Regions from separate parts of the Homo sapiens genome. Here region 2 is linked to region 1. The links are contacts of gene promoters, found by promoter capture Hi-C in human tissues and cell types (Jung and others, 2019). All regions are on one chromosome and are shown on one strand. Each heading gives the region's core, a stretch centred on a gene start or on the middle of the fragment in contact. The rest is flanking DNA. Distances are from core to core; before and after follow the strand shown. Region 1 holds the start of IFT88 (intraflagellar transport 88). Region 2 overlaps CRYL1 (crystallin lambda 1).

Region 1 (7,823 bases), core at 3,729-6,228:
TATGTCTGACCATTAAACAGAATCATTAGGGGCTCCTCTTCTACAAAATCTTTTTTTTCTTTTTTTTTTGAGTCGGAGTCTCACTCTGTTGCCCAGGCTGGAGAGCAGTCACACAATATCAGCTCACTGCAACCTCCGCCTCCCGGGTTCACATGATTCTCCTGCCTCAGCCTCCCGAGTAGCTGGGACTACAGGCGCGCACCACCATGCCTGGCTAATTTTTTGTATTTTTAGTAGAGATGGGGTTTCACCATGTTAGCCAGGATGGTCTGATCTCCTGACCTCATGATCCGCCTGCCTCGGCCTCCCAAAGTGCTGGGATTACAGGTGTGAGCCACCGCGCCCGGCCTACAAAATCTTTAAATATTACTTTTTCATTACTCAATTTTAGACTCTCCTCTATATCCTCCTTCACTGTAAGCAATCTCACTCACTCCTACGCTTAAATCCATGTTTTAGGAGCTAGTGGATAACAAGTGTGTATCTCTAGACAGGATCTTTCTTTTTCTTTTTTCTTTTTTTTTTTTTTTAGACAGAGTCTCGCTCTGTTGCCCAGGCTAGAGTGCAGTGGCGCGATCTTGGCTCACTGCAACTTCCCAGGTTCCAGTGATTCTTCTGCCTCAACCTTCTGAGTAGCTGGGACTACAGGCATGTGCCACCATGCCTGGCTAATTTTTGTATTTTTAGTAGGCATGGGGTTTTACCTTGTGGGCCAAGCTGGTCTCAAACTCCTGACCTCATGATCCGCCCACCTCGGCCTCCCAAAGTGCTGGGATTACAGGTGTCAGCCACCGCACCTGGCCTCTTTTTCTTTTTAAGAGATAGAGTCTCACTCTGTTGTCCAGGCTGGAGTGCAGTGGCATGATCATGGCTCAACACAGCTTCCAAACTCCTGGGCTCAAGGGATCCTCCTGCCTCAGCCTCCTGAGTAGCTAAGACTACAGGTGTGGACCATCACACCTGGCTCATTTTTATTTATATGTAGAGACAGGGTCTTGCTATGCTGCCCAGGCTGGTCTTGGACTCCTGGCCTCAAGCAATCCTCCCACCTTGGCACCGAAGTGCAGGTACAGATGTGAGCCACCATACCAGGCCTGAGGATCTTTTCTCTGAGCTTTATTAATACAATTGTATATACTCAGCAGCTGCCTAGTCAACATCTCTATTTGCATATTTTACAGGCATCTGAAACTCAACATATTCAAAACTAAACTCATTTTCTCTCTCAAACTTGCATCTCCTCCAGTATTCTCCATGGTAATACATGGTGCTAGCATTCATCCCATTACTCATGCCAAACTTGGGATTCATGCTTGCTGCTTACTACCCATTCACCCCCAACTCTCTATATAATTAATTACAAGTCCTGACAATTCATTCGATTAACAATTATTGAGAGTCAACTAGTTCCAGGCACTTTTCTAAGTACTGGAGATACAGTCTAGAACAAAAAAGACAAAAACGCCCATTCTCTGTGGAGCTTGAATTTCAGTAATATAAGCTAGGTGACCCTAACATTTTGCCTGGCAATAATAGGTGTGTTCATTAAATGCTAGCTACATAATGATGTTTAAAATGAAGGTGAATGAGCACTCCCTGGGCAAGTAACTGTATCACACCCAAAGAGCAACCAAGTTGAGGCCGGGTGCGGTGGCTCACGCCTGTAACCTCAGCACTTTGGGAGGCAGAGGCGGGCAGATCACAAGAGGTCAGGAGTTCGAGACCAGCCTGGCCAACATGGTGAAACCCCATTTCTACTAAAAATACAAACAATAGCTGGGTGTGCTGGCTTATGCCTGTAGTCCCAGCTACTCAGGAGGCTGAGGCAGGAGAATCATTTGTACCCGGGAGGCAGAGGTTGCAGTGAGCTGAGATGGTGCCAGTGCACTCCAGCCTGGGTTACAGAGTGAGACTCTGTCTCAAAAAAAAAAAAAAAAAAGTAACCAAGTTGAAGTAACTTGAATTTGTTTCTAATTAAAAAGATTTTTTTGAGGAGACTGAAAATTTACAGTTTGGAGATCCAGAGATAATGGAAATTGTGTCTATAGAGGGACAGTAACTTGAAATAAGGCTCCCCGGTATTCACTAATTAATTCAACAAATATTTCTTGGAACAACTGCTATGAGCTGGGTATAGTATGGCTAGATACTATTCAGAATCATGTTAGATTTTACCCTACTTGCAAGCTAACAAGCTCATCTAACAGCTCCACAAATGATGGCAGAAAACACCTGAGTCAGAGAGAAAGGGCTTTATTTTTCACAGCACAGCCAGTAGCCTGGGCTTCATATTCCCTTCGGTTCCCCTTTCCCTTCCAAGTCCCATGGGGACAGTCCAGGTGGATGCTGCACATGTGATTGGTTTTACCGCCCAGGTACACCAAGTTTAGGAAAGCCCAGTCTTGAACAGTGAACTGCAAGCCAACATGCTCAGCCTTTGCCCCAGAAGGTGACACTCTCTTTATTAAACTGAACAGCAACAAACCTGTCTTTTGTTCCAGAAGCAGACAATTATCTTAATCTTCCAAAGCTGTTCCTTGAAAGGGTATATTAATCAGAATTCCCTACAGAAACAGATCCAATAGGATGCATATTGCAGAGAGAGATTTATTTGAAGGAATTGGCTCAATCAATTGGAGGCTGGTGTTAGATATGAGTTCTAAATTTCTCTTCGAAGAATCAATGTCAGTATGTTCAATTCTTTGTCTTCTACTTTTAAACTTAACTTCTGGCCAGATGCGGTGGCTCACACCTGTAATCCCAGGAGGCCGAGGCGGGAAGATCATGAAGTCAGGAGATGGAGGCCATCCTAACACGGTGAAATCCATCTCTACTAAAAATACAAAAAATAAGCCGGGTGTGGTGGCGGGCACCTGTAGTCCCAGCTACTCGGGAGGCTTAGGCAGGAGAATGGAGCAAACCCAGGAGGCAGAGCTTGCAGTGAGCCGAGATGCCGCCACTGCACTCCAGTCTAGGCTATAGAGCGAGACTCTGTCTCAATTAAAAAAAACAAAACAAAACAAAAAAAGCTTAACTTCCTCGTAAAGCAATCTTTTTCAACTACCTGCTCCACCCTGACTCATTCTGATTACCTGCTCTGCCCTGACTCATTCTCCACCCTGACTCATTCCGATTTCCTGCTCTGCCATAACTATTTTTCCCACCAAACCACTTACCCGGTCACTCTCTTTAAATTAGTCAATCAGAATTAGTTTAGCCTGTGCCGTCTAACCTTAGCCAACAGGGGAAGGACACAGCAGCAGGTGCCACAAGCGTCAGGAATAAAAACCCCTTCGCCTCCCTTGTCCAGGTGTGTGCTCACCATTGCTCCATCTGTGAGGGCGCACCCTTCTATAGAAGTAAATTGCCTTGCTGAGAAGGAAAAAAGAAAATTTTATAGTTGAGTGCTATTTCTTTTGCGGCACCAAAACTTTATTTATAATGCTGGCAAGCCTAAAATTTGTAGGTCAAGTTAGAGACCCAGGAAAGAGCTGAAGGCAGTCTGGGGGCAGGATTCCTTCTTCCTCAGAGGACCTTAGTCTTTTCTCTTATGACCTTCCCTTGACGGGATGAGGCCAACCCACCTTGTGGAGGACCAACTGCTTTACTCAAGTCTAATTTAACTGTTAATCACATCTTAAAAAATACCAGCTATCATAGTACTCCAGAACAAAGGCAGTCAGTGTCTCTGCTCACAAAACACGGGAAAGTGCAGGTGACCCATGGAGAATTGTCCCCCAACACTATGTTTTTTCTTTTTTTGGATGGAGTTTCGCTCTTGTCACCCAGGCTGGAGTGCAATACCACCATCTTGGCTCACTGCAACCTCTACCTCCTGGGTTCAAGAGATTCTCCTGCCTTAGCCTCCTGAGTAGCTGGGATTTATTACAGGCGCCTGCCACCTCGCCGGGCTAATTTTTGTATTTTTAGTAGAGACAGGGTTTCACCACGTTGGCCAGGCTGGTCTCCAACTCCTCACCTCAGGTGATCCGCCAGCCTCAGCCTCCCAAAGTGCTGGGATTATAGGCATGAGCCACTGCGCCCGGCCAACACTACTTATTTTATAAAAACTCATTAATTACTGGTGTCTTTAGACTCCCTCTGTCCCTCCCCTCCATCCCCAACATTTACTTTTAAAATTTAAGACAAAACTTAAACATTAAACAATTATGAATTTAATTCCCCCATTTATATTACATTGATTAAGCTTTACACTATGACCCAGGTTCTAGGTGGTTGGGACACAATGGTTCAATCCCTGTCTAGTAAATAAAACGGACACCTTAAGCGCTACAATCAAGGTGCGCACGGGGTGCTACAGAACAATACGCAGACAGGAGGAGGTGGGGGGAAAGGTGAGACTTCCCAGGCAGGTGTCATCCCAGAATAACTTTTACACAGGGTGACTAAGCGAGTTAGTGACTGCGCGGAAAACGGGCTTCCAAGGTTCACAAGGCTCGTGCTGCGGCTCCGGGAGTTATGTCACAGTAAGCTTACTATCATCCTTTGGGCATCTGCTTTACGGATGAGTTCATCAGGATTTAAAGGATCTTGGTTCCATATCCTTCCCCTTCCTCACAGAGGCCGCCAGCCCGGAGCCCCTCTAGGCCCTCCTCCCTCCTGCATCTACTGGCCGCGAGCCTTTCCCTCCCCGCCCCCTTCACACAGGCCGCCCCCAGCCTCCCAACCCCCCGGTTCCGTTCCACGGGAGGCCCCGGCCTCCCTGCCCTCTCCTCCACCGTTCTACCCGCATCGCCCGGCTTCCCGCAAGCCGCTGGCACCGTCCCCTCAACACCCTCCGCCCACCGCCACTCCCTTCCACTGAGGGGGACCGGGCTGCCTTCTCTCTGACCCGCCGTTCTCCGCCCCCACCCACTTCCCCAGGCCTCCCGCACCACCCCCTTCCCGCCGCGCTCTCTCCCGCCCCCGCGCTTCCGGCCCCGCCCGCCCCCGCGCGGAGGACTGTGGGAGCGGCTTCCTTGGATTCCGCGCTTGGCAACGGCTCGGCGTCGCGCTTTGGCCAACCGCTGCGTCGTCCCTGGGCCCGAATAACTGTCGCCCGCTTCCCTCAGCGTGAGGTAGGAGAAGGGCGCTGGGGCCTAGTGCCTCAGGGCCCCTGGCAGCCGTGCCCCTGCGGCGTCCTGTGTGGCGCATCCCGCCGAGGGCCTCTTCGCCCGTCTCCTGCCCGCCCCTGTCGGCCCCGGGGCGGTCTGAGGCGGGGCCCCAGATGGACTCGGCCTGCCCCTGCTTTTCTTCCTCAGGCTCCCGAGTTGTCTACTCAGAAACGCGGGCGTTGTTTCTCACATCGGTGTCCCCAGCTCACAGGCTTTTCTTGCTCCTCTGAACTGGGACGGGCGTCGCTGACCGCTTGGCGATGTCCCAAGTCCCAGTCACGCCTGACGGGGAAACTTAAAACCCAGTTAGATTACTGCGCCAGCTCTGGAATCGCACAGCAGAGATGGTGCACATCGCTCTTTAATTTTCTTGTTAGGTGAAGCACTTCAAATTGCCTGATGAAAGTTGAATCAGGAATGAAGATAAAAGTACACAACAATGCAGAAAGCGGTACTTAGCCTCACAAAGATGGAAACATTCCAAAAACGTGAAGTACTGTTGTCCCAAGATTCTTTCTAAGCCTAAAATTACACTTTTACTAGTCCGATTTTCTGGTTGTGAGTTTTTTTTGTTTGTTTTTTTTTTTTCGAGAAACTGCAGTAGGCTTCTTGGAAGTAGACCAAGGGTGTCCAATCTTTGGCTTCCCTGGGCCACATCGGAAGAAGAATTGTCTTGGGCCACACATGAAATTCACAAACACTAAGGTAGCCGATGAGCTTTAAAAAAAATCGCAAAAAAGAATCTCATAATGCTTCCAGAAAGTTTACGAATTTGTGTTGGGCCACATTCAAAGCCGTCCTGTGCCACGTGCGGGCCGGGGTTGGAAAAGCTTGAAGTAGACTGTCCATAGTCAGTAGAAGAGTATTAAAAAACATACCTTTCACTTAAAAAAAAAAAAGGTTTTGCCAGCATTTGATTTATATTAAACATAGGTGGCATCATCCCCAGATTATTTCAACATGGAAAAGTTTGTTACATGTATAAGCTGCTTTGGAAATTGCCTGGAGAATCCAGAAACCCTGGGTTGTATAACAACAGTTGTTCTGCCACCCATAGCTATTAGCCATGCTTGATTCCCTTCAACTTTCCTGGCCTCACTTTCCACATCTTTTAATATTTGTATGTTCCACAAGATGTCTATTCAACTAAAGTCTCAAGTCAAACCTTTTAAAAATCTGGTTACAACCTAGCAGAAAGGATTTCTCATTCTAAAAGTTGCTTCCTTCTATAACTTATGTGTCAACTAAGCTGACTTAAATAGGGTTCATAATCAGAAATTATGGTTCAGAATAGTGGTTCTCAAAGTGGTCCCCAGACCAGTAGCCTCAGCATCACTTGGGTTTAAGAACCACTGGTTTAGTATTATCTGAGCTAAAGCTTTTAATTAAAAATATTTTATATATCTTTTACCAGTGACTTTTAATACCTTTTTTTTTCTTTTTGAGACGGAGTCGCACGCTCTGTTGCCCAGGCTGGAGTGCAGTGGCGGCAATCTCGGTTTACTGCAAGCTCCGCCTCCCGGGTTCATGCCATTCTCCTGCCTCAGCCTCCCGAGTAGCTGGGACTACAGGCGCCCGCCACCATGCCCAGCTAATTTTTTGTATTTTTAGTAGAGACGGGGTTTCACCGTGTTAGCCAGGATGGTCTCGATCTCCTGACCTCGTGATCCGCCCGCCTCGGCCTCCCAGAGTGTTGGGATTACAAGCGTGAGCCACGACGCCTGGCCCTTTTAATAACCTTTTGAAGCTATTTTGGAATGCCATTTCTATGTGGGTGACATTTGCCCTCATAGTAGTTAATTTTCATCTTCAAAAAGTAATGAGAAATTAACTCAAAATGGATCAATGACCTAAATATAAGAGCTAAAACTGTTAGAAAAAAAGCATAGGTATAAATATTCTTGACCTTAGATTAGGCAGTTCTTTCTTAGATATGATACCAAAAGTACGTGCAACCAAAGGAAAAATAAATTGTATATCATCAAAATTTAAAACTTTTGGCCAGGCGTGGTGGCTCACGCCTGTAATCCCAGCACTTTGGGAGGCCGAGCCGGGCGGATCACGAGGTCAGGAGATCGAGACCATCCTGGCTAACACGGTGAAACCCCGTCTCTACTAAAAATACAAAAAATTAGCCGGGCGTGGTGGCGGGCGCCTGTAGTCCCAGCTGCTGGAGAGGCTGAGGCAGGAGAATGGCGTGAACTCGGGAGGCGGAGCTTTCAGTGAGCCGAGATCGCGCCACTGCACTCCAGCCTGGGTGACAGAGCGAGACTCCGTCCCAAAAAAAAAAAAAATTTTTTTAAACTTTTGTGCTTCAGAGGATAGTACAAAGAATGTAAAATGATGTACAGAATGGGAGAAAGTATTTGTAAATCATTTATATAATGTTTAGTATCAGGAATATATACAGGATCCTTATAATTCATGTGATAACCTGATTTTTGGGAATGAGCTGGCCGGGCGCGGTGGTTCACGCCTGTAATCCCAGCACTCTGGGAGGCCGAGGTGGGCGGATCACAAGGTCAGGAGATCGAGACCATACCGGCTAATACGGTGAAACCCCATCTCTACTAAAAATAAAAATAAAAATAAAAATAAAAAAATTAGCCGGGCTTGGTGGCGGGTGCCTGTAGTCCCAGCTACTCGAGAGGCTGAGGCAGGAGAATGGCGTGAAACTGGGAGGCGGAGCTTGCAGTGAGCCGCGCCACT
Region 2 (7,823 bases), core at 1,918-4,417, 150 kb before region 1:
TGTGGCCTAATATTATCATAACAATGACAAATAATCATTTGTCATTGATAAATAATCGCAGCAGCATGACAGGCAGAAACAAGTGCTTGTGTTGAAACAGGGAACTGACAAGCGATTCCTTATAATAGGTGACGGGCAACACAGCTGTGCGGAGATGGGAACCCTACCTGAGTCCAGCCCTTCTGTGGTTCTGTTAACATTGATCAGTTTAGCAATCAGTACTTACTCCATTTTAAGGTAAAATTCTCAAGTCACACATACAAAGAAAAGATTATTTAAAAATCATACAAAGCAATGAATACTACAATCACTGTTAGTTCAAAACATGGTTTCGCGTCCTGAAAATCATTGGGCAAAGAGATCCCAGACAGTGTTAAGGAACCCCTTTTATTGAAAAACTCCTTGCTTCTGCTTCCTTAGTTAAAACCTGAGATTTTTCCACAGTGGAGTAACACATGCATAGCTGGGGCACATATTTTGCACCTGATTTGGTAGGAGAAAATGCCCAGGCTGAGAGGAGCCACAAGACATCCGTGAAGTAGGAGAAAATGCAAGATAGTTAATAACGTACCCAACTGCTATGAAACAAATGTTAAGTCGAATGAAAGGTTTAGGGATGTATCACTCAGGGTTCTACCAGACAAAGCCAGTAAGATTCACACACATACACACATACATCAAGAGATTTATTTCAAGGAATTGGCTCATGTGACTGTGGGCCTGGCAAGTCAGAAAGCCATGGACAGGCCATCAGGAGGGCAGGCCGGCAACTCCAGGCAGGAACTACCCCACAGTCTGCAGGTGGAATTTCTCCTTCCTCAGGGAGATCTCAGTTCTGCTTGCAAGGCCTTTCAATGGACTGGATTTAGCCCACCCAGACTATGGAGAATAATCTCATTTACTTAAAGTCAACTATGTACCAAATACCTTCCCAGCAACATCTAGACTGAGTTTGACTGAGTGACTGGACGCTCTAGCCTGGCCGAGCTGACCCTCTCAGGGGACAGATACCCTCAGGGATCTTGGATCAAGCACTTCTGTTTGTTTGTGGGGTGGGGATGGGGAGAAGAGGAAGCAAGACACATCTAACAATTAACAATAGCAAAGGGTTAACAGATGCTGTGGTACTTACTCTGGTCCTTCGGACAGTCCCAGAAGAAGAGGAAGGCAGGAGAGAAACTTGTGTGGTGGAGGCACACGATATTTGATGGATAAATCCTCCTCCGTGACTATCTCCTCTACTGATCACCAGCTACACCGAACCATCTTTCCTTCTCTATAATCATCCCATTCCTAGATTTAATTTTCTGATTCATGTATTTTTTGCATGGCCTCATTTTCATTTGCTTTTCTCATTTTTCTTCATACCATTCTTCCTCATCCACTTCTTTTTTACTAATTCCCAGCTTTTGATCTTCTATTTTGTTTTGCTCTACTTTTCCCCCAAACTTGGTCCTGAATTTTCACATTTTTCTTGTGCAAACACTACAATAACTTTACTACTACTATCACCAGCAGGAACACAGACTTGCTACCCAGGAATTTGGATGAGGTTCTATTCAAGTTCTTCCACTCCTCAGCTAGAGTTTGGGCATAAGTCCACTGTCAACTGAGAAACAGGAGAAAAATTAAGAGTCAGGAGTCACAAAAGGTTTTATCTTAGGTGAGTGTCAAATAAAGAAACGCAACAGCGAGAAGTAGAGTACTCTGCCACCTTCAGCCCTACGAGGGCGACATGAAGAAAGCACTGGGCTTGTGTGGATCACCCCAGGGCAGCGGCCAAGAAGAAAGGATTACACCAGCACGTCCATCTCAATCTCTAGTGAAAGAAAGGATGGAACAAAGTTAAATCTCGGTGATTTTCTCATCTCCAGAGATGTTCAAGGACAGACCCAGACAAGAACAGTCACTTGCACAGAAGTAACTCGAGCATGAGCTAGGGTACTAGACTATCCCTCTGAGAAACATCCAGCCCTAGGGTCCTTGCAAATGCTACAGGGAGTAACAGAGTTAGAGATTAAGTTTATTATTATTATTATTATTTTGAAATGGAGTTTTGCTCTTGTTGTCCAGGCTGGAGTGCAATGGCAGGATCTCGGCTCACTGCAACCTCTGCCTCCCAGGTTCAAGCGATTCTCCTGCTTCGGCCTCCAAATAGCTGGGATTACAGGCATGCGTCACCACGCCCAGCTAATTTTGTATTTTTAGTAGAGACACAGTTTCTCCATGTTGGTCAGGCTGGTCTCAAACTCCTGACCTCAAGTGATCCACCCGCCTCAGCCTCCCAAAGTGCTGGGATTACAGGTGTGAGCCACCACATCTGGATAATTTTGTATTTTTAGTAGCGATGGGGTTTCTCCATGTTGGTCAGACTGGTCTCAAACTCCTGACCTCAAGTGATCCACCCAGAGTGCTGAGATTACAGGTGTGAGCCACCACATCCGGCCTAGATTAAGTTTATATTGAGAACTACCACAATGATTCATGAGTCTCTCATGAGAAACTAGTTGGAATTATGAGTTTGTTCCCTCCACTTATACATACTGTACCCACATGTTTTCGTTTTCTATACTCTTCACCACATGTTGCTTCCCCCACATGCAACAGGAAACTGGCTCCACGGCAAGGGTGAAAAAGATCTGACCCAGTGGTTCCCACCCACGCCACCTTCCAGGGAGAAGGTGAGGCCAAGATGAGACTTTAATAAGTCGAAAATAAAAGACTGCTAAGTGCTGCCCCACAATTACTCACAGGCTTGTGGTCAGGTTTGTGAGCTGCTTGGCCTGTTGCCGGCACTTACAAGCTTTCTTGGAAGCAAGACACAGACATTCCTGCGGAATGACTTGAGCAAATTTTGCTAACGCTACAAGGGTTGATTGAACACCACCACATTGAACTGATGCAAGAGGACACTGAATCACACCCATAAAACACCCGTCCTGTCAAGAGTCTTCCAAGAGGACGCGCAGGAGTCAGCGCTCCGGGGAAAGAAGATGAGAAACACCAGGTGGACCACCCTGGCCAGGCTGCTGGGAACAAGCCTACGTGCACAGCTGCCGGAGGAGAGGCGGGTCTCCCCTCTGGGAGGCATCTCAGCTACATCTATCAAGTTATAAAAATGTTACTCTCCCGCAGGCTGAGCCCACTCCCAGAATTATTCCAGAAAAGACTCCAGAAGAAGAAACCATATGTGCATAGAGGCTCACTGAGGCCTGACCTTAAAACATCCCGCAGTAAGGGAAAGATTGGATTTAAAAGAAAAAAAAAAAAGACCAGCTAAATGAAATATCATAAAGCCATTAAGAATGAATAAAAACTTGAGTAGCATGTTCATAATAGAGACTAGACAGGAACAAAGGAAAATGAAAGCAATTGACTTAGGGTAGAGCAAACACAGGTGGAGTTTTTCCCTTTGACTTTTCTTTAAAATAGAGGTTGTGTGTGTGTGTGTGTGTGTGTGTGTGTGTGTGTGTGTGTGTGTGTGTTTTGAGACAGAGTCTCACTCTGTCGCCCAGGCTGGAGTGCAGTGGCGTGATCGCAACTCACTGCGACCTCCGCCTCCTGGGTTCAAGCGATTCTCCTGCCTCAGCCTCCCAAATAGCTGGGACTACAGGCCCGCCACCACGCCTGGCTAATTTTTTGTATTTTTAGTAGAAACAGGATTTCATTGTGTTAGCCAGGATGGTCTCGATCTCCTGACCTCATGATCCGTCCGCCTTGGCCTCCCAAAATCCTGGGATTACAGGCGTGAGCCACTGCGCCCAGCCTAAAATAGAGCTTTTAAATAGAAACAAACAAACAAAAAAAAAAATGGAAAGGAAAGAGAGGAAAGACTTTGCCCTAATAAAAGGGACATTCCAGAGTACTTCAGGCCCCAGTGCTAATTCCCTGGTGCACTTTTTCTTAGAACACTGTGTGTATAATGATGCTTTTAGGGGGAAAAACAACAGTATTATAGAGTTTGAAAGAAAGGGAAAGCCTCGACTTTTACAACAAATACAACAGCAAAAAGAATCCATCATTGTGTATGAATGTGAATACATTCACTTCCATTCTATGAGGGTAGTGATACTTTAATTGAGGGGTCCTCTGGGAATACAGTTTACTACAATAAGTTTTGAACCAAAGAGTGTAAGCCCTGACTCCAAAAACAGCCATGGAGCACAAGCCCCATATCTGCCTACTCCCCACATCTTTACCCAGAGATGCTTCCTGCCTTGATGGCCCATAGGGCTCCAGTGGCCTCTCACCTGGCTTCTACCTGCAGCTGATGGAAGGCACAAAGGCTGGCTCCCACAAGGGAAGAGGGATGCAGTGTCATTTGTCACCTCCCACCTCTCTTCTCTTTGCCTTTTCTCTTGGGGGCTCCTTACCCCCATCCTCTACTTCTGGGGACCCTTACCCCTGGCCTGTTAACTTCCCAACTTCAAACTGAGGGAGCTGAAATCCATCATTTATATTCACTGCTCAAGCACCTATTGGTAATGATTGCTAGAAGGTGTTATAGTAACAGCATTTTCATTTATTTATTTATTTATTTATTTATTTTTAGAGTTAGAATACTAACATAGAAGCTTTGCAGCATTTTGGGGATTTTTAATGAGTATGTGGTTGATGTTATTTATTTGCTTATTAATGGGGATACAGGTATCTCTAAATTCATAAATCAGCAGTATCTCTCTTTTCAATAGGGTTTTGTTGCTCACCAATATGACTACTCAGAAAATGGCCACCCACAAAATAATAAATAATGGTATAAAAATAGTCTACTTCTTATGGAAAATTGCTGCTAGAAAAAAAATCCTAATTAAGGCCAGGCGCGGTGGCTCACACCTGTAATCCTAGCACTTTGGGAGGCCAAGGCAGGCCGATCATTTGAGGTCAGGAGTTCAAGACCAGCTTGGCCAACATGGAGAAACCCCATCTCTACTAAAAATACAAAAAATTAGCCAGGCATGGTGGCATGCGCCTGTAGTCCCACCCACTTGGGAGGCTGAGGCAGGAGAAGCCTTTGAACCTGGGAGATGGAGATTGCCATGAGCCGAGATCACGCCATTGCACTCCAACCTGGGCCACAGAGTGAAATTCCATTTCCAAAAAAAAAAAAAAAAGTCCTAATTAACTAATGATTCCAACACAGCAAATAAAAGTTTGCAGATAGAATTCCAGTTGCTGTGGCAGTTGACATTATCCCTGCGAACATCTGCACTACTCTAGAGAGAAATCATTACAAGGTACAAACGTGCTCCCTTGCACCTCCAGCCAGGCTGGGGTCGCCCAGCAAGTGTAAGCAAACCTGTGGGAAAGCTGAGCTGGACTTGGCTCTGCACACGGGTGGCATGCAGCTTCTGACTCTAACATAGAGGAGGAGAAAGCTTTACAAATATGCTTAGATGCCATTTCTCTGCCAAAGCCACCAGCCTTTCTGGAAAAGTCTTGCACTCCTGCTCTCCTTTTGGAAGAGCCCCACATTCCAACAGTTTGTCATGTGCATCCTAACCCATCTCGAGTGGTATCTACAGTCTTTCCAAACAAAGGGCCACGCTACTCTGTGAAAAATGCCACTGGAAGTTTGATAGGGATTGCACTGAATCTGTAGATCACCTTGGGCAGTATGGACATTTTAACAATATTAATCATTCCAATCCATGAACACAGAATGTCCTTCCATTTATTTGTGTCTTCTTCAGTTTTTTCATCAGTGTAATTATAGTTGTCAGTGTACAGATATTTCACTTTCTTGATTAAATGTATTTCTAAGCATTTTGGGGGCAGCTATTGTAAATGGAATTGTTTTCTTGATTTCTTTTTCACGTAGTTCCTTGTTAGTGTATAGAAATGCTACCGACCTTTGTATGTTGACTTTGTATCCTGCAACTTTACTGAATTTATTTATCAGTTCCAACAGAATTTTAGGGTTTTCTATATATGAGATCATGTTGCCAGCAAACAGTGACAATTTAACTTCATTTCCAATTTGAATACCTTTTATTTCTTTCTCTTGCCTAATTGCTATGGCTAGGACTTCCATACTACGTTGGATAGAAGTGGTGAGAGTAGGCACCCTTGTCTTGTTCCTAATCTTAGAAGAAAAGCCTTCAACTTTTCACCATTGAGTATATTTGCTGTGGGTGTGTCACGTATGACCTTTATCGTGTTGAGGAACACTTCTTCTATATCTAATTTGAAGAGAGTTTTATTATAAAATGATGCTGAATGTTGTCGTGTGCTTTTTCTGCATCTGTTGAGATGATCATATGGTTGTCCTGTATTCTGTTAACATGACATATCACATTTATAGATTTGCCTATGGTAAAGTATCTCTGCACCCTGTGATGAATTCCCCTTGATTATGTTATTAAATATAGGATCATTTTAATGTGCTATTGAATCCAGTTTGCTAGTGTTTTGTTGAGGAAGGCCAGACTCTACTCTCTATTTGACTGGAGGCTCTCTCGGTGGACACTGAGTACTCACTGATTCATGGGTGTGGGGGTGTGGGTTCTTTTTTTTTTTTTTTTTTGAGACAGAGTCTTGCTCTGTCACCCAGGCTGGAGTGCAGTGGTGTGATCTTGGCTCACTGCAACCTCTGTCTCCCAGGTTCAAGTGATTCTCCTGCCTCAGCCTCCCAAGTAGCTGGGACTACAGGTGCACAGCACCACACCTGGCTAATTTCTGTATTTTTAATAGAGACGGGGTTTCACCTTGTTGGCCAGACTGGTCTCGAACTCCTGACCTCGTGATTCCCCTGCCTTGGATTCCGAAAGTGCTGGGATTACAGGTGTGAGCCACCACGCCCGGCCGGGAATGGGCTCTGATATAGTTCTAGGGCTCCTCAAAATAATCTTTCAGTACTTCCCTGTAGATGAAAAATATCACCTCTCTCATTGCTTCTGGCAGAAGATCATTCTTACAGAGCTCTCTGCATTTGAAGCCAACAAAAACACAGGTCTCAATTAACCAGGAGGCTGGTCCTAGCAACGTGGGTGATGTATCCGCTCTAACGACCCTGCAGTCCCAACAGAGGTGCTGCTGAGTGGCTGGACTGAGAAGCAGCATGTGGACTCTGTTGGAAAGGAGCTGAGGAAGAGGACAGGCACAGTGGAGCTAGGATGGTCTTCAGCAAACCTCCCAGGGACTAGGAGCTGGAATAGTCAGAGCCAAGAGAGCTCTCCAGTACCCTCTGGTAAGGCACTTACTCCCACAGACACACTGACCACCCAGACTTCAGAAGGCGCAGAAGACAGAGGCCAGCTGAGCGAAGGGACAATGGCCCAGGCCATGTGAGAGAGGAAAGAAAGGCACAGCATCCTGGGGTGCCCGAGGGATCAGCTCTAAGCGGCACCTGGGGCTTTGGACAGATGCTGTCAGAGGAGACAGAGACTGAACCGGTCACAGAAGAAGCCTGGTAGGAGAAGCAGGGGAAAGATTCCCCCAACCCCCTGCAGAGCCCGCACAGGCCTAGCCCAGGGCAAAGCCGGCAGAGGGAGAACACATCCTTTCTGGGGTGATGTGAGCCTCAGAGCAACAGGAAGAAAAGGCAGCGCTGAGATACACGGAGCTCTGGAAGCCCCATCAGCGATTCACTCAGATGCTTCAAATGTTGTGTCTTAAAAAAAAATCCTAAACTCTTAGGGTTCAGTTTTCAAGTAGGTAAGATGTAGAACCCCTCCAGCTGAGGCATGGTGCGGAGGCCAGACTTGGCTGTTTCCTGGCTCCCCCAACTTCCCTACACACTGGGCCCATCGCTCTATGTGACTTCGTGCCAAGACCACACAGATGTTGCCAATGTCTGCGCTGTGCTATTTTACTCAAGCCTCAAC

Evidence for each region. Contacts are between HindIII fragments. The study calls those that stand out against the background at their distance.
Region 2: a fragment that was not itself captured here is called in contact with the fragment with the promoter of IFT88 in region 1 in 1 of the 25 tissues and cell types used here (lymphoblastoid cells).

Annotation. Positions count from the first base shown.
Region 1 is chr13:20,562,179-20,570,001 of GRCh38, forward strand. IFT88 (intraflagellar transport 88) reads left to right here and starts at 4,979. Exons shown (of 26, transcript NM_006531.5): 1 at 4,979-5,078. It overlaps LOC105370103 (a long non-coding RNA gene), which reads right to left and starts at 4,851. Exons shown (of 6, transcript XR_941725.3): 1 at 4,498-4,851; 2 at 3,323-3,372. RefSeq lists silencers at 4,679-5,088, 5,184-5,372. The HindIII fragment of the contact is 1,600 bases long and covers 3,619-5,218 here.
Region 2 is chr13:20,417,266-20,425,088 of GRCh38, forward strand. All of the region lies in intron 5 of CRYL1 (crystallin lambda 1), which reads right to left. Among named protein-coding and RNA genes, the nearest start is that of MIR4499, 13 kb to the right of the region's middle. RefSeq lists an enhancer at 1,762-2,961. The HindIII fragment of the contact is 3,613 bases long and covers 1,362-4,974 here.